Regions from separate parts of the Homo sapiens genome. Here region 2 is linked to region 1. The links are contacts of gene promoters, found by promoter capture Hi-C in blood cells and fetal thymus (Javierre and others, 2016). All regions are on one chromosome and are shown on one strand. The core of a region is centred on a gene start or on the middle of the fragment in contact, and the rest is flanking DNA. Distances in the headings are between cores, read along the strand shown.

Region 1 (2,987 bases), core at 427-2,926:
ACTCCAGCTTGGGTGACAGTGAGACCCTGTGTCAAAAAAAAAAAAAAATCCAAAATCTCACCCAGACCAATACTGTATCAGAATTATCATTTTAACAATATCTCCAGATGATTTATATGCACATTAAAGTTTGAGAAGCTGGCCAGGTGTGGTGGCTCACACCAGCACTTTGGGAGGCCGAGGCAGATAGGTTACTTGAGCTCAGGAATTCGAGACCAGCCTGGGCAACATGGTGAAACCTTGTCTCTATAAAAAATCCAAAAATTAGCCCGGTGTGGTGGTGGGCACCTGTGGTCCCAGCTACTCAGGAGGCTGAGGTGGGAGGATGGCCTGAACCCAGGAGGCAGAGTTTGCATTGAGCTGAGATTACACCACTGCATTCCAGCCTAGGCAGCAGAGCAAAACCCTATCTCAGAAAATAAATAGTTTGAGAAGCAATCTTTTTTTAAATGAGTGAAGAAATCAGACCTAAGGAGAAATCTGATGAAGCCAGAGCTGAGTTAATATTGATAAATGGATGCAGTCAGGTGGTCTATACTTAATTTTTGGTGAGGGGAAGGGACAGTGGAGGCAGTATTGATTTTGAGGAAGCCAAACAGGACAGCCTGATGAATTCAAGATTTCCAGCATATATACATCTTCACCAATCCCACCACCTTGCTCCAGCCTGTCATATCACTGTGTCTACATAAAAAAAAAAAACAAAAAAAAAACTCCAAGGCCAAACTCTCTGACCTTTCTTTCCTTCTAAAGACCAAGCCCTCCTCACTAGCCCCCTGCCCCTCCTTAGTTAACTGGCAAAGAGATCAAAGGGCAGGCCTTCTGACTGGTGATGCCTCAGCTGTAGCCCCCAAACTTGACTCATCCTTTTATTAGTCCAGGTACCACTTCTTCAGAAAGATGACCAGCCCTCACTGACCTTCCCCTTCCTGCTGTGCTCCAGGCCATCAAGGCATGTGTCACCCAGGCTGGAGTGCAGTGGTGCAATCTCCGCTCACTGCAACCTCCGCCTCCTGGGTTCAACCTATCCTTCCACCTCAGCTTCCCGAGTAGCTGGGTCTACAGGCGCATGCTGCCGCACCCGGCTAATTTTTGTATTTTTAGTAGAGTCTAGGTTTCACCATGTTGCCCAGGCTGGTCTCAGACTCCTGGGCTCAAGCTATCCACCCGCCTTAGCCTCCCAAAGTGCTGGGATTACAGGCCGTGAGCCACCGCACCCGGCCTTGTACTGTTACTGTTTATGGGAGGCAGTACACAGCTGGGCTTAAGGGCACAGTCCTGGAATCAGATGCAGTCAGATTTGAATCCCAGCTTCCCTTCCTGCAAGATGTGTGACTTTGGCTAATCATAGTGCTTTACTATCCAAAAGTTGGCAAGGAATGGGTGAACTAATACAGGATAAAAACGCTTGCCCTACTTCACCTGCCCCCAGCTCCCGGCTATAAACAGTAAATAGCTGAGCTGCTGCAGCACTCAGGCAGGTTGGCCAGCGCTGGGCCAGCAGGAACTGGAAGCTGGTGTGGGGCCTGGGACTTTGGACGCATTTCCAGCTTTCTCTGAACCGGGCTGGCTTCCTAGCAGATAGGGCGGGACCGTCGGGTTGAGTGACGGCCGGTGGCCCGCCCTGGGCGTGACGTTGTTCTAGTGTTGTTGCCAGCAGCTGCACGTGGTCGGCTGAGTCCGCCTCAGACTCAGAGCTGCGCTCCTCGACCTCAACGCCAGGCGGTTACTTTGCTGCTCCTCCCGCTCGCTATGTCAACGTCCACTAGCTGCCCGATTCCCGGGGGCCGGGACCAGCTGCCCGACTGCTACAGCACCACGCCGGGGGGCACGCTATACGCCACTACCCCCGGAGGTCAGCGGGCCGGGCAGGGGTCCGCAGGCTGCGGACATATTAGCGCGTGCGTGTTGTTGCGGGGCGGGGGTAGGGGAGGGACAGACCTAAGACTTGTCCGCAGGCCCCTCTACAGGTTGTAGCTTTGGGGGAGAATGTTTGGAGCGGAAGCTCAGTTCCCAAAAACTTCTAAGTGATGCAACAAGGCCATGAGCCTAGCTTCCGGGTGTTTGGGCTGTAATCCTTCACTGTGGCCTGGGTTCTTGGAGCCTTACACACGCTCCTTACCCCTCGCGACTTTGCTTCCTAGGAATAGGGGCCAGGGCCCCCTACTGAGCGTGACCTCAGCCGGAAGCACCGGGTCTTGAGAAGTGGAGTAGTTAGAACAGTTGGGGCAGTTGCTCCGTTTTTGTGCTGCTGGCTGGCGTCTGTTTGGTTGGGCGAGCAGCCTGGGATCACGAGCTGCTGGGCTCCCGACCCAGGGATTCCTGCCACGCGGAAGCGGAGGGGAGGAACAGGGCAGGACCCTTTGAGGACATTATGCGGGCCAAGTTCCTCTGAGCTAGTGTGAACCTTATAGGACCTGGGAGGGGTCAGGATTAGAACAGTACGTTTCTCCTCCCTGCAGGAGATAGCCCAGGTAACAGCACTGGGTGGAACCCTTCACAACTGCTATTTCACTTCTTGAACCACCTGAGGCTGTTAGTCTAGGTCTCACCTTCACTGGTGAGACCAAAGCAGAGGTTTCAGAGTGGTAGAGGAGCAGCATGAAGTACCTGAACTCAAAGTTTGGTGTTCCTCTTAGAGCCAAGATCTGAAGCTCTCCCAAACATAAAGCCCCTGCCTATACCAGCTGGGATGCCCCCCTTGCTTTATACCCACATCTTGGTTAGGTCTGGAAGATTTTAAGCACTATGAAGGCTTGTCTGCTGAGAACCTAGCTGGGCTTCAGAGCCGATGTCCTTTGATACACAGGGAAATTTGACACCACCCTCACCTCCAGGCCCCAAAAGGCCTGAGTCTGGGACCCCAGTCACCTCGGTACCCAAGCTCCTGACTCTTACCTCAGTCCCAACCCCTTGACAGGCACCAGGATCATCTACGACCGAAAGTTCCTGCTGGAGTGCAAGAACTCACCCATTGCCCGGACACC
Region 2 (2,744 bases), core at 89-2,588, 2.2 Mb before region 1:
ATCTGGACTGCCAAGTTCATAATTTCTGAAGCTGTGTTTAGGCTTAGCTGGAAAGAGCTGTGATCAATTGATGTCTGCCAGAGGCCTGGCTTAGGGGTGCTGTGGTATGTGTGCCATGCATTTTCCATCTCTGGACCAGGTGCATCTCTAATATCACTTGGGGCTGGTCCCTCTAATTGGCAGACTCAGCAGGCATGACTGGAGAGGGAAGTCCCAATGGTGCTAGAATGGTGCTGCAGTGGCAGAAGACGGCTCACAAGTGAGGTCTGGAAGAACAACAGGGAAGACATCCATCATTTGCTCCAAAGTGTGCAAGTCAAATCCTGGGGAGAATCATGATAACCCTGATCACTGAGCAGCTACAGAAGCAGACTCTGGATGAGCTGAAATGCACACGCTTCAGCATCAGTCTGGTAAAAGACCAGTCTTCCTGCTTCTCCACGACCCCCTCCCCCTTTTTTCTGAGGCTGATTGTTGCTATTACTTTACTCTTGTCCTGTGCTGTATGAATCATGGTACTTAACCTGGAAGAGCCCACTAATGGCTCAAAACCCAGCCCAAAAGGAAGGGGGCAGGGATTTTTCCACCGATAGAGAAGGGACAGCAAAACTTGGGTGGAGAAGGGTTTGAGATGTTGGAAGATGTGGATTGTTTGACTTACTAACTTTGGGAAGACAAGAGGAAGAACACTTAATGTCCCTAACATCCCTGTAGCTCATGAATCGCAGAGGAGAACTGAAGAGGGCTTCCTAGAAATCTGTCAGTGTGTCCTGAATCCAAATCATGATGGATATTCTCTCTTTCTTAGCCTTTGCCTGATCATGCAGACATCTCCAACTGTGGGAACTCTTTCCAGCTTGTGTCTGGTAAGGCATCGTGTGTGTTTGTGTACGTGTGTGTACCCATTCCTCTCTCCACACATTTCTATCATTGGTTTCCAGTGACCAGGGCTAGCGAGCCTACCTCTAGAACCTTCTTGCCAGGGTCAACTTCTGAGATTGACAGTTGTCTTTCATGTTCTAGCATGAAAGTTATCTGGTTGGTTTGCTCTTATTCTAGCTTTGTGGGGACTTGTATAATCTAATTTTTTGAATAGGTAATACATTCACATGGTTCAAAATTTAAAAAATAACAACAAAAAGGTTATGCTGAGAAAAGTCTCTCTTACTCTCCCGTTCCCTATCTACCCAGCTTCTACCACCTCCCTAAAAGTATTAGTTTCTTATACAGTATATGTGACTAGAATTTCTTTATATAAAAAGAAGCAAATGTATATATTTATTTCCTTTCTTTTTTAAGTTCTCGGATACATGTGCAGAACGTGCAGGTTCGTTACATAGGTGTACATGTGCCATGGTGGTTAGCTGCATCTATTTTATTTCCACGTTTTTAACACAAAAGGTTGCATACTATATATTATTTTGTACCTTTAAAAAAAAAAATGGGACCGGGCCTAGTGGGTCACACCTATAATCCCAGCACTTTGGGAGGCCAAGGTGGGCAGATCACCTGAGGTCGGGAGTTCAAGACCAGCCTGACCAACATGGAGAAACCCCATCTCTACTAAAAATATAAAATTAGCCAGGCGTCGTGGCGCATGCCTGTAATCCCAGCTACTCGGGAGGCTGAGGCAGGAGAATCACTTGAACCCAGGAGGTAGAGGTTGCGGTGAGCCAAGATTGCGCCATTGCACTCTAGCCTGGGCAACAAGAGCAAAACTCTGTCTCAAAAAAAAAAAAAAATTGCTGGGCACAGTGGCTCATGCCTGTAATCCTAGCACTTTGGGAGGCCGAGGTGGGCGGATCATGAGGTCAGGAGTTCGAGACCAGCCTGGCCAACACAGTGAAACCCTGTCTCTACTAAAAATACAAAAATTAGCCTGGCATGGTGGTACACACCTGTAATCCCAGCTACTCGGGAGGGCAAGGCAGGAGAATCACTTGAACCCAGGAGGTGGAGGTTGTGGTGAGCCCAGATCATGCCACTGCACTCCAGCCTGCACAACAAAGCAAGACTCCATCTCAAAAAAAAAAAAAACAAAAAACAAAAAAAACTTTAATATAGCTAGGAGATCTTTCCCTATCAGAATGCTGAGTATTCATTCCCTTGTTATATATAGCTACATATTATTACACTGCATAGATGTACAGTGGCTTATTTAATGAGTTTTCTATTGATGTGCATTTAGGTTATTTCTAATCTTGTTTGGATACATAAAACTGTAGTGGGCCAGACGTGGTGACTCATGCCTGTAATCCCAGCACTTTGGGAGGCCGAGGTGGGCAGATAGCATGAAGCCAGGAGTTCGAGACCAGCCTGGCCAGCATGGTGAAACCCCGTCTCTATTAAAAATACAAAAATTAGCTGGGCATGGTGGCAGGCGCCTGTAATCCCAGCTACTCAGGAGGCTGAGGCAGGAGAATCCCTGGAATCCAGGAGGCGGAGGTTGCAGTGAGCCGAGATCGCACCCACTGCACTCCAGCTTGGGCAACAGAGCGAGATTCCATCTCAAAAAAAAAAAAAAGAAAGAAAAAAGAAACTGTAGTGAATAACCTTGTACATATGTCATTTTTTCACATGTGAAAATATATCTGAGGTATAAATTCGTAGATTATTAATTACTGAGTTAAAGGGCCCCTGATCGTAGGGACATTTAGATGGAGGCATCACTGGTGGACAATCAGAACTCCCTAACTCGTGCTGCTCAGCAGTTCTGCATCTCATTTTCTTTTCTGGGATACCTA

Evidence for each region. The method cuts DNA at HindIII sites, captures the fragments that hold promoters and counts their contacts. A CHiCAGO score of 5 or more calls a contact.
Region 2: a fragment that was not itself captured here is called in contact with the fragment with the promoter of EIF4EBP3 in region 1 in 1 of 17 cell types (monocytes); the score reaches 5.3 in monocytes.

Annotation. Positions count from the first base shown.
Region 1 is chr5:140,545,986-140,548,972 of GRCh38, forward strand. EIF4EBP3 (eukaryotic translation initiation factor 4E binding protein 3) reads left to right here and starts at 1,677. Exons shown (of 3, transcript NM_003732.3): 1 at 1,677-1,855; 2 at 2,921-2,987. The coding sequence starts at 1,753. ANKHD1-EIF4EBP3 (ANKHD1-EIF4EBP3 readthrough) reads left to right here. Exons shown (of 36, transcript NM_020690.6): 35 at 2,921-2,987. RefSeq lists enhancers at 624-1,332, 1,333-2,039, 1,800-1,889, 2,040-2,747. The HindIII fragment of the contact is 7,257 bases long and covers 1-2,987 here.
Region 2 is chr5:138,341,001-138,343,744 of GRCh38, forward strand. It overlaps FAM53C (family with sequence similarity 53 member C), which reads left to right. Exons shown (of 5, transcript NM_016605.3): 2 at 184-413; 3 at 809-866. The coding sequence starts at 336. Among named protein-coding and RNA genes, the nearest start is that of FAM53C, 4.1 kb to the left of the region's middle. The HindIII fragment of the contact is 5,325 bases long and covers 1-2,744 here.